3 separate regions of the Homo sapiens genome follow, and regions 1 and 2 are each linked to region 3. The links are contacts of gene promoters, found by promoter capture Hi-C in blood cells and fetal thymus (Javierre and others, 2016). All regions are on one chromosome and are shown on one strand. Each heading gives the region's core, a stretch centred on a gene start or on the middle of the fragment in contact. The rest is flanking DNA. Distances are from core to core; before and after follow the strand shown. Region 1 overlaps RTL9 (retrotransposon Gag like 9). Region 2 overlaps TMEM164 (transmembrane protein 164). Region 3 holds the start of KCNE5 (potassium voltage-gated channel subfamily E regulatory subunit 5).

What was found. The method cuts DNA at HindIII sites, captures the fragments that hold promoters and counts their contacts. A CHiCAGO score of 5 or more calls a contact.
Region 1: a fragment that was not itself captured here is called in contact with the fragment with the promoter of KCNE5 in region 3 in 1 of 17 cell types (neutrophils); the score reaches 6.6 in neutrophils.
Region 2: a fragment that was not itself captured here is called in contact with the fragment with the promoter of KCNE5 in region 3 in 1 of 17 cell types (neutrophils); the score reaches 5.6 in neutrophils.

Annotation. Positions count from the first base shown.
Region 1 is chrX:110,401,052-110,404,532 of GRCh38, reverse strand. The region is part of intron 1 of RTL9 (retrotransposon Gag like 9); the gene reads right to left. It also overlaps a transcript of AMMECR1 not described here. Among named protein-coding and RNA genes, the nearest start is that of RTL9, 44 kb to the right of the region's middle. The HindIII fragment of the contact is 3,744 bases long and covers 107-3,481 here.
Region 2 is chrX:110,151,526-110,154,782 of GRCh38, reverse strand. The region is part of intron 5 of TMEM164 (transmembrane protein 164); the gene reads right to left. Among named protein-coding and RNA genes, the nearest start is that of MIR3978, 71 kb to the right of the region's middle. The HindIII fragment of the contact is 797 bases long and covers 1,090-1,886 here.
Region 3 is chrX:109,623,327-109,626,962 of GRCh38, reverse strand. It overlaps KCNE5 (potassium voltage-gated channel subfamily E regulatory subunit 5), which reads left to right and starts at 1,791. Exons shown (of 1, transcript NM_012282.4): 1 at 1,791-3,263. The coding sequence starts at 1,943. The coding sequence ends at 2,371. The HindIII fragment of the contact is 6,764 bases long and covers 1-3,636 here.

The DNA.
Region 1 (3,481 bases), core at 729-3,228, 780 kb before region 3:
ATCAGACAGTGCTATTTTCCCTTCCTATTACCAACCAGCATGCTCAGGTGAAAGTTGTTCATGCCCCTGGAGTTTGTCCTGCGAGTGTATTTTTAAAGGCAAAGCTTCTTAGCCCAGCCAAATGAAACTGATCGGAAAAGCACCATAGAAACCAGAGGCCTATTATGTGTAATAGCTGGGCTCTTTGCAGCCCTATCCTAAGCACTAGGCCACAATTTCGGAAGGAAAGAACCTGTAAAGACTTCAGAAGACAGCAATGAAGACGATTAAGGGATTGGAAAAGAGGATCTAGGGGAAAAGGTTAAAGGTATTAGGATTATAAGGACGATTTAGCCTCAAGAGGAAAAAAAATGAAGGAGCCTGACCAACTGTTCTTCCTCGCTATTGATGGCACAGAATAAACGAATGGTAGCATGACGTACTTTAGTTTAGATGTAAGAAAGAACATGACAACAAGTCTCCGGAATCACTAAAGACTGTTCGTTCTTCATTCCTAAAACATTAGTCGAGCTTCCACCCCATGCTGGACTGTGTGCTGAGCACTGGAGAAGAAGTTCACAGGCTAATGAGGGAGACATGCCAAACAGATCATTATAAGACAGTGGGAGGCTTAGTATAATTGAAGGAATTCAGAATGCTTTGGACTTTTAAAAGGCGATTGGGTGTATACAGCACATATATATCACCTCCAGTGGGGTCTGAGGCAGTACCCAGTAATCAAGTACATTGATATTTCTGGAGCAAAAACACATGAATATTCACACAGGGTGTGAAAAATAAAGACTATAAATAACCTCATGTCAGTTCAAGTTGCGCTGCCAAATGAGTTTGTCATAAACGTACAAAGGCTCTCAGTTTCCAGAGCTTTTGGGGTTTTGGAATGATAGCTATGAGGCTATGAGTCTGGGTAAGGGGAGTCTGGCCAAGCACCAAGACCTGGGAATGACAGGGAGCTTCAGAATGTGGGCAGAGCCTGTGTCTCTAATGTGCCCCAATTCTGCTGCCCTGGTATCATGGACGTGTTTGGAGAAGGATCCGGGCATGTGCATGTGTGTGCGCGCATGCGTGTGTGTGTGTCTGTCTGTCTGTCTGTGTGTGTCTGTGTATACAGCAGGAGGAAGCTCCTTGCTGCTCCTCAGGTCAAGTCCACTTTCAGTGGCTCCTAGCAACATACTTTGAAGGAATGAGGTCTTTATTAACCAAATAATCAGTAAATGGGTTTTGTTATTGTTTTCAAATTATTTAGCTCCATAGTACCTATGAATATGCCCACAAATTTTGTAGAATAAGCATCCTCTGTGAGGTTTGCAATGTGTGGTAGAATCCCTGGGGCTGGGGGGTGTCACATCTCTGGCCTTCCTTTTTCAGCTGTGTTCTGTGAAGAACAGGGGCAGGGAAAGCCTGGCCTCTCAACTCCCTCTCTCATACCTACTCCCAAGGATGGCAGGGCCTGCCTAGCAAGTGATAAAGAAAGCTGAAAAGCCTACAGGGAGGGGCACCTGAGCTTCTGCTTATCTGGATTGGGGAACACCCAATTATCCTCTACCAGCCAAGCAGCTTCACGTAGGGGCTAACCTCCCTTAAAGGGGAACACCCAGTGAACCCTGTCACACCCTCAGAAGTTGTTTGCTTCCTGAAGAAAAGGGGGCAGTCCTTGAGTTCATTCTTCTGTTCCTAATCATGAAAGGAGACACCCCCCTTTCAGGACCTATTTTCTTTTGTCACTTACCCCCAACCATCACCTACACCTAAGCTCAAAAAATAACTAAAGCCCTCTTTTTGTCTTTAGACCTCCCTCCAAAAGCATGTCCTTCTCTCTGGACTGGTCCTCCTCTCCACCCTCTGGGAATCCAAGCCCACATCATTTCAGGATGAGATCAGCCTCCAGCCACTCCCTCTGAGGCCTGGCTTCCCAACCTTGGTGATTCCAAAGCACACATCTGTTGCAACACACAGGGCTCGCCCCTAGGCAAAATGGAGCCGGGGACACAGCTCTCAGTCAGCTGAGCTCCCACACTCACATACCCCATCCATGCTAGCACAGCCTTCCTCTTCCGTGGGGAGTAGGCTCCCTGGAACCCTTCCGTCTCCTCTCCCTGACAGGAAAGGCTCTGATCAAGGAATTTGCACTCAGATATAAATAATAACCCTGCCTTACCAAGGCAACCCTGACAGACAAACCTTGCAATTTGACTCAAAGGAATTGTATGCCGACCATGACGGTTTCTGGCATCACTCATAGGCAAAAAACAAATATTTATAGGCAAGGTGAGCCTTCTTCATGCTCATCAGATTATGATGTAGGGCTGCCAAGGCAGCTCTTGTCTTCTTGATCTAAGATAGACCATAGCAACATTCCTCAGAGCAAGGGACTCTGTTTCACTCTGTTTTCCGATTCAAATCAGGTCATGCAGTTTGATATCAAGAGAGATTATCTGAAATTGGGATTGACCTGGAAAGTGTGGGACAGAGGGTTGCCAAAGGTTGAGCGTACTGGTGGGAGGGAGTTGGGAAAGGAAAGGGAGACTTTGAAGAAAGAGACTTGTTGGTGAGAAGAGGAAAAGAGAAACAAGGAAGCGAAGAGAGACCTGGATGGTTATGGGGGTGAGGCAGAAGACTACTAAAAATTGATTTAAGGGAACAGTTAACATTTTTACATGCTTATTTTGTACTGGACACCGTAAGTGTGTTATCTCATGTCATCCTCACAACACGTCTAGGAGATGAGAACTATTATTAGATCCATTTTACAGGGGAGGAAACGAAGGCTCACTGAGATTAACTGTGGGAAATCATGCAATCAGTGAATGGCAGAGCCAAGATTCAAATGCTTATTGATCTGACTCCAGGGCCCTCAGCCATCTGAGAAAGGGGCCAAACACCCTTTGGTTGTAGGAGAAGCCTCCATGGTGTATCTTGATAGAGGCCCCCAGACAACCCCTTCCCCTTACCACAACACAGAAACACCTACATGCCTCCCGTGGGAGCTACCTGCTCCTAAGCTAAAGATTGCTTTCTGGGAAGGCACCAATAAATATAATATGTGCTCTGGAAAAGGTTAGGTTAAGGCAGTTTACCTTCAGAAAACACAAACCAGAGGTCAAGGTCTTAGAGGAGTTAGGAAGGAGAAGCTCTCAGCAGGATGGGCTGCCTGTAGGAGCCATAGTAGGTGTTGCAGCATGTAGGTGGCACTGTAGTACTGAGTCCCCGAGACACACTGGGAGTCTGAAGACACTAAAGACAAACTTGGCTTATTTCACCATTTTGCCCAGAGCTGACTCTGCTCACCATACACACAAGCGAGGGAAGAGTGCACAGTGCAAGGGAGCTGATGCAGGTATTGGAGCCTACGTTCAAATCCTAGCTTTGCAGCCTACTTGCTATGTATCTTTGTTACTCCTCTGAATGTGGCAAGTCACTGGTCTGAATTTTCCACTTTCATCTGTAAAACGAGGATGAAAATAAAAACATCGACTTGAGA
Region 2 (3,257 bases), core at 239-2,738, 530 kb before region 3:
GACAGGCAGCATAGAGGCATCTCTGCCCACCTGGTTTCAAACACCAGTTTAAACTCTAGTGCAGGCCAGGCACAGTGGCTCATGCCTATAATCCCAGCACTTTGGGAGGCAGAGGCAGGCGGATCACTTGAGGCCAGGAGTTCCAGACCACCCTGGCCAACATGGTGAAACCCTATCTCTACAAAAAATGCAAAAACTAGCCGGGCGTGGCAGCATGTGACTGTACTTCTAGCTATTCTGGAGGCTGAGGTGCGAGAATTGATTGAACCCGAGAAGCAGAGGTTGCAGTGAGCCAAGATCAGGTCACTGCACTCCAGCCAGGGTGACACAGTGAGTATCTGTCTCAAAAAAATAAAAATAAAATAAACTCTAGTAAAGGGACTCCTAACCTTGGTGGTACTATGCACTCCTTGGGCAGTCTGGGGAAGTGTAAAGGCTCTCTCTCAGAATAAAGTATTTAAGTATACGAAATAGAATATATAGGATTATAAAAGAAAATAATCATGTTGAACTATAGTTATCAAAATGCTTTTAAAAGGCACATCTGTTTTTAAATTTTGAGGTAATGATGAATGCCAATGATTTTTTGAGATATCTGCAACAACTCTAACATAAGAGGAAAATAAGTGTAATTTACATTAACAACAGCATGCCAAGTGCTGCTAATGTAACTGTGGTTTGTTATCTACATTCCTTACTAAAGGATATACCACAAAGTCGGCCCTCCATATCTGCAAGTTCCGCATCTGTGGATTTGACCAACCACAGATCAAAAATATTTTTTAAAAATGAAAATAACAATAGTAAAAAAAAATACAAATAAAAAACAGTATAACAACTATGTATATAGCATTTACATTGTATTAGGTATTATGAGTAATCTAGAGATGATTTAAAGCAGGGATGTCCAATTTTTTGGCTTCCCTGGGCCACATGGGAAGGAGAATTGTCTTGGGCCACGCATAAAATACACTACTGATAGCTGATGAGCTGAAAAAAAATTTTTTTCAAATATAATGTTTTAAGAAAGTTTACAAATTTGTGTTGGGCCACATTCAAATCCATCCTAGGCCACAGGTTAGACAAGCTTCCTTTAAAGTATACAGGAGGATGTGTGTAGGTTAGATGCAAATACTACGTCATTTACATTAGGGACTTGAGCATCCTTGGATTTTGGTATTTGTGGTGGGGGAAGTCCTAGAACCAATTCCCCATGGATACCGAGAGATGACTGTATTTCAGTTGCAGTTAATGGACATAAAGATGTGATTATTTTTCTCATTCAAGGTCATGGGCCTCACGTGATGTACTCCCATAAGTCTAGTGGACACTGTGGGAATTAAATGAGATCAAGATCACACATGTAACAAACCCAGTGCCTAGTAAACATTAGCTTGTAAGATGTATAATAAATTATGTGCAATTTGCAGTACAGGAATACATCCCTGAATAGAAGGTCATTCATTCATTCATTCATCACCTACATACCAAGAAGAAATGAAAAATTCCTGTCCTCAGGGAGACCAGCATGTAAAGACTATACTGTGAGGATGACAAAAATGGGAGGAACAGAGGCAGCTGGCGGGAGCTGGGGTAGAATAGTTACAGAGGGCTTCTTGGAGAAAGTAACTACTGACATGAGTTTTGACAAATGAATGTTTCTAGGCCCACAGCTGGAGAAGAGCATTCCTGGCAGAAATCACAGCATTTTCAAAGGCACAGAGGCATGAAAATTGGATAAAATACTCAGGGAACCCCAAGGATTTGGGTATCACCACAGTGTACAGTATAAAGAAGGGAGTGTAAAGACATGAGGTTGGAGAAGGGGTTGGGTATCAGGTCATACGGTCTTGTGCACTGGGGAAGATGGGGGGCCACTGAAAGCTTCCAAATGACAAAGAGCTATGATCCTATTTGAGCTATAGAAGTAGCTCCAGGAATGGGCTTAGGGGGAGCAAAGGAGGCTGGCTGGAGAGAGATCACACAGAGCCAATTATCATCATTGAGGGAAGAGATGTGCAAGGCTTGGCCCAAGGTACTGGTCCTAGAGATGGTAAGGAGAGGATGAGTCTGAGAGATATTTAGGAGGTAAGAGCAGGAGGACCCAGTGATTTCTCCACACAGCAGCCAATATGATCTTCTCCACAAGCAGATTGGATCATGTTGGACTATTTAATAAACAGTGTGGGGACAAATGGGAAGCCAGCTGGAAATAAAGTTGGATCTTTATCTTGCACTGTATATCAGGATATATTCCAAGTGAATAAAAGACTTAAATGTAAAAAATAATAATAAAAGGAACTATAAACATACCAGAAGAAAATATGGGATATATATTTTTTATAACCTTGGAGTAGTAAAGGGCTTTCTAACCATGACTCTAAATTCAGATGCCATAAAAGATAAATTACATAGAAAGGTAAAAATTCAGCTGGGCAGGGTGACTCATGCCTGTAATCCCAGCACTTTGGGAGGCCGAAGTGGGCAGATCACGAGGTCAAGAGATCAAGACCATCCTGGCCAACATGGTGAAACCCCGTCTCTACTAAAAATACAAAAATTAGCCGGGCGTGGTGGCACGTGCCTATAGTCCCAGCTACTTGGGAGGCTGAGGCAGGAGAATCGCTTGAACCCGGGAGGCGGAGGCTGCAGTGAGCTGAGATCACGCCACTGCACTCCAGCCTGGCAACAGAGTGAGACTACGTCTCAGACAAAAAAAAAAAAAAGAAAAGAAAAGAAAAAAAAAAGAAGAAGAAAAAGAAATTTTAAAATCCTGCATGGCAAGAATAAAACATTAGCAAAGTCAAAAGAAAACACAACTGAGGACAATATCTGTAGCTCATATCATAAAGGGTAAACTGTTAATATTTATATGTAACAAGCTCTTAGGATTCAAATTTTGTAAAAAGGCCAACACAATTGAACAATGAGCATGTGATAGGAGCATGTAGTTCAAGGAAGAGGAAATCAAATGCCAATTTTATTTTATTTTATTTTGTTGAGACTGAGTCTCACTCTGTTGCACAGGCTGGAGTGCAGTGGCACAATCTCGGCTCACTGCAACCTCCACCTCCTGGGTTCAAGCGATTCTCATGCCTCAGCTTCCCGAGTACCTGGGAATACGGGCATGCGCACCACCACACTTGGCTAATTTTTGTATTTTTAGTAGAGAGGGGGTTTCGCCATGTTGGCCAGGCTGGTCTCGAACTCATGACCTCAGGTGATCCACCCACCTCGGTCTCCCAAAGTGCTGGGAT
Region 3 (3,636 bases), core at 542-3,041:
TGAGCTCTTCTGAGACTCTAATGCCACTGCTGATCTGACAGGAGGTGTAGCTCAGGCGATAATGCTCACTTGCCCTCTGCTCACCTCTTTCTGTGCGGCTGGTTCCTAACAGGCCAAGGTCCAGCAGCCTGGGAGGTTGGGGACTCCTGTTTTAACAGATAAGAGAAGTCTTTTTAGCTCAACAGTCATATCACTAGGTTAGCAGTGCTTTGAAAATTCTCTGGCTGTGTCCTCTGGCATTCATCCTGCCAAGTTGCTTTAACAATTCTTTCCTGAGGCCCTCTGAGGTGAGAATATTGAGGCAAGGTGATTAGAAGGGAGCCAGTGTCAGGGTCATGTGGAATGTCTCTGAGGCCTGTTTAGAGGCTGTGAAGCAAGGCTCTGTTTGAGACCCTGGATACAGTTTGGTGCCAACCTCACCTGAACACACAGAAGGCTACAGCCCCTGGGTGGATGGTGGGCTGAAGAACGGTTGGGGAAGAGGCATCGGAAAACCTTCCTTTTTTAACCCATGGCACCTATAGATTGAATGGTCCCTGGACTGAACGGTCTTGAACAGGCAGCATTATTTTCAAGGTGTGCCTAAGGTCATACACTTTTCTTGCTTTCTGCTCTCATTTGGCAACTATGGACAACCAGACCTAGCCAGCACTACCTCATTTTTTCTACCCCACCATCTACAAACCAACCCTTTTCCTTTGTGAAGCTCAGTCTGTTTCCAATTTAACATATCTGGCCTGATCTTTGTCTTGGTGCCTTGTTTTCCCCTAAAAAAAGACAGCCTTTGAGAAAAAAATGGCTGCCCTAAAAGCCATTAGGGCCTAGACCTGTTACCAAGTCTAGAGAGGCACACAGCTGTTTGCTGGCCTAACTGGGAGTAGGGTGAGCATATTCTCTAGAACTGGCACTTTTCAGATCCCGAGATATCCACAGAGTGTAGTCAAAGGGCCTTTTAAAATGTGCATGCTACTCTTATTGGAAGAACTTGGTTTCACTTCTGGGAAGATGGCTTACTTACCCATGGGAAACAGGCTCCCATTATGAATAGTACATTCATGTGCTAAGATGTGTTGACTTTTCAAAAAGTGTCATAGGACATCAGAGCAGGGGTGCTTCCAAGAAGGTGTAATATCACTTATATCACCAGAAACCATTTTGGATAACCAGGGAGTTCTACTCTGCCTTGGCCTTCTAGCAGGTGCCTGAGCACTCAGTCACCAAATTCAGCCTGAGCATCTTCTGAATAAGATGCTCTCCTCCGACAAGGTGGGAGGGGGGTGAAAAGGGGGGCGGGGGGAAAAGGAAAGGAATGAGGACTAGAAAGATAGGCCTGGGTCCCTGTATATGGGAGTAACTTCCATAAAATGTGGACAAGGGGTCTCTGCTGCGGAAAGGCGTCTGCCCTCTCCCTTGAGCGCCCCAAGGCAGAGCTGCCTTAGGGGGCCAAATGCTGTATCTGGGCCAAAGCCTGGCCTGCAGGGCAGGTGGCCAGAACTTGGAAGGAATTCTCTTCCGCAGCCCAGGGTCCAGGCTTGGCCCCAGCAAGCTGCCCTGCCAGCGTCTGCTGCCTGGGGCCTCGCGCATTCCGAGCCCCCGCCCCCTCCGCCCGTCTCCCAGCCTCGCCCCCACTCTTGTCCCCTTCTCCTCCCCCCACCAGCTGTCCCCTTTCCCTGGAGCAGCGAGACAGCCAGAGCCTGGGAAGAGGCGGCCGCGGGCCGGAGGGGGCGTGGTGGGGAAGGGGAGGAGGGGCGGGAGTGAGGGAATAAGGAGGCCCCGCCGTCGGCGCCCCCAGCCACTGCGCGCTCGCCGGAGAGCTGGGTGCTACCGCTGTTTCCGCTGCTGAGCCCTGCCCGCCGGCCGGCCCGCTCGCTAGCTCGCTTCCCCTCGCCCAGGGGGAAAGGTCAGCAGCGTCCTGGAGCCGCCGTGTCACTCCCCGAAAGCCATGAACTGCAGCGAGAGCCAGCGGCTGCGAACCCTTCTGAGCCGCCTGTTGCTCGAGCTGCACCACCGGGGTAATGCCAGCGGCTTGGGCGCTGGCCCTCGTCCCAGCATGGGCATGGGGGTCGTGCCTGACCCTTTCGTGGGCCGCGAGGTGACCAGCGCCAAGGGCGACGACGCCTATCTCTACATCCTGCTCATCATGATCTTCTACGCCTGCTTGGCCGGAGGCCTCATCCTGGCCTACACCCGCTCCCGTAAGCTCGTCGAGGCCAAGGACGAGCCGTCCCAGGCTTGCGCCGAGCACGAATGGGCCCCGGGAGGCGCCCTGACCGCCGACGCCGAGGCTGCCGCGGGCTCCCAGGCCGAGGGCCGCCGCCAGCTTGCCTCCGAGGGGCTGCCTGCCCTCGCCCAGGGCGCTGAGCGGGTCTAAAACCACAGCCCCAGATTGCTGGTTCGCGCCCTCCTCATCTCGCTCATCCCTGGGCGCGCCTCCCACCTTCCACCCCCAACTCCCTTCCAGGGTTCGCCTCATCTGAGGCCCAGATAATGGTGAGAGGCCAGGAGACCTTGTCTGGAAGGCCCTGGAAGGAGAAGCACCACCTTACCCATTCGGGCCAGTTTCTCCCTCTTCACCCCTGCGCCTCCACCCCTACCCCGCACATCCAACTGCACTAAACTGCCTCTGCTCTCTTGTCTTCAGACAGCCCTGACAGCACGCTCCAGCCCTCTGGGAACTGAATCCAACACGTCCAACACTTGGCACTGAACTGAAGCAATGCATTCTATCAGAACTCTGGGCCGTCTAACTGGCAGCTGCTCCAGGGGCTGCCAGGGACTGCTCACTCTGCAGAGCCAACGGGCTTGCCAGGCCGACTGCAGCAGCTCCAGCTTCCAGTTGCCTTAGGGACAGAGACAAAGGAAATGAAGAGACCTCAGACATCTTTTCCCTCCCTCTCTCTTTCAGCAGGGAGCTAGCAGGACACTAGGACCAGTCTGTGGGATAGAATGAACTTAATGGGGGACGGAAGGGGGAGGAGTGCTCAACGGGGAGGGAAATGATCTATGACTCCAACCGTATGATTTTCTTGCCTCCCCAGTTTTCATCCCAGTGGTAACGCCTGATTTTTGGTAGCTATGCCATCTTCTGCTGAGGATTACCATTACTGGGTGTATCACCCCAGTACTTCCAAATGCCTCTCCTCTATTGATTCAGTTGTTATTGCAGTGTCTGCTTCATCCGTGGAACTTGAGGCTCAGATGCCCCCTGCTCTGTAACCCTGGGGAATGTCAGAGGCAGGTAATAAAGGTTGTTTAAACAATAACGCAAGACTCTTCTCTCAGAGATTCCAGCCTTAAGACCCAGTACCATATGGAGAAGGAATCCTTTTTCTTTTGCTTTTGGAAATGATGTTTGGATTTGGGGGTTGGGTGGTTGTGATATTTATATCTATGTAACCAGTTCCAATTTGATATGTGTGATTATGGGTGAAGAAAATGTTTATATGGCTAAATGGGTTGTTTTTTCAAGTGTTTCAAAAGTTATACCTACTTTATTACTTATCCCTCCTTTTTTCTTATTTCTGAAGCACTTTCAAAGATCACAATGCAGTCTTTCAGGATGCACTTTAAAAAACCTTTAAGGCCCATCCCTTTTAGCTATTATCAAACCTAATTTTTAGAAGCCACCTTAATAAT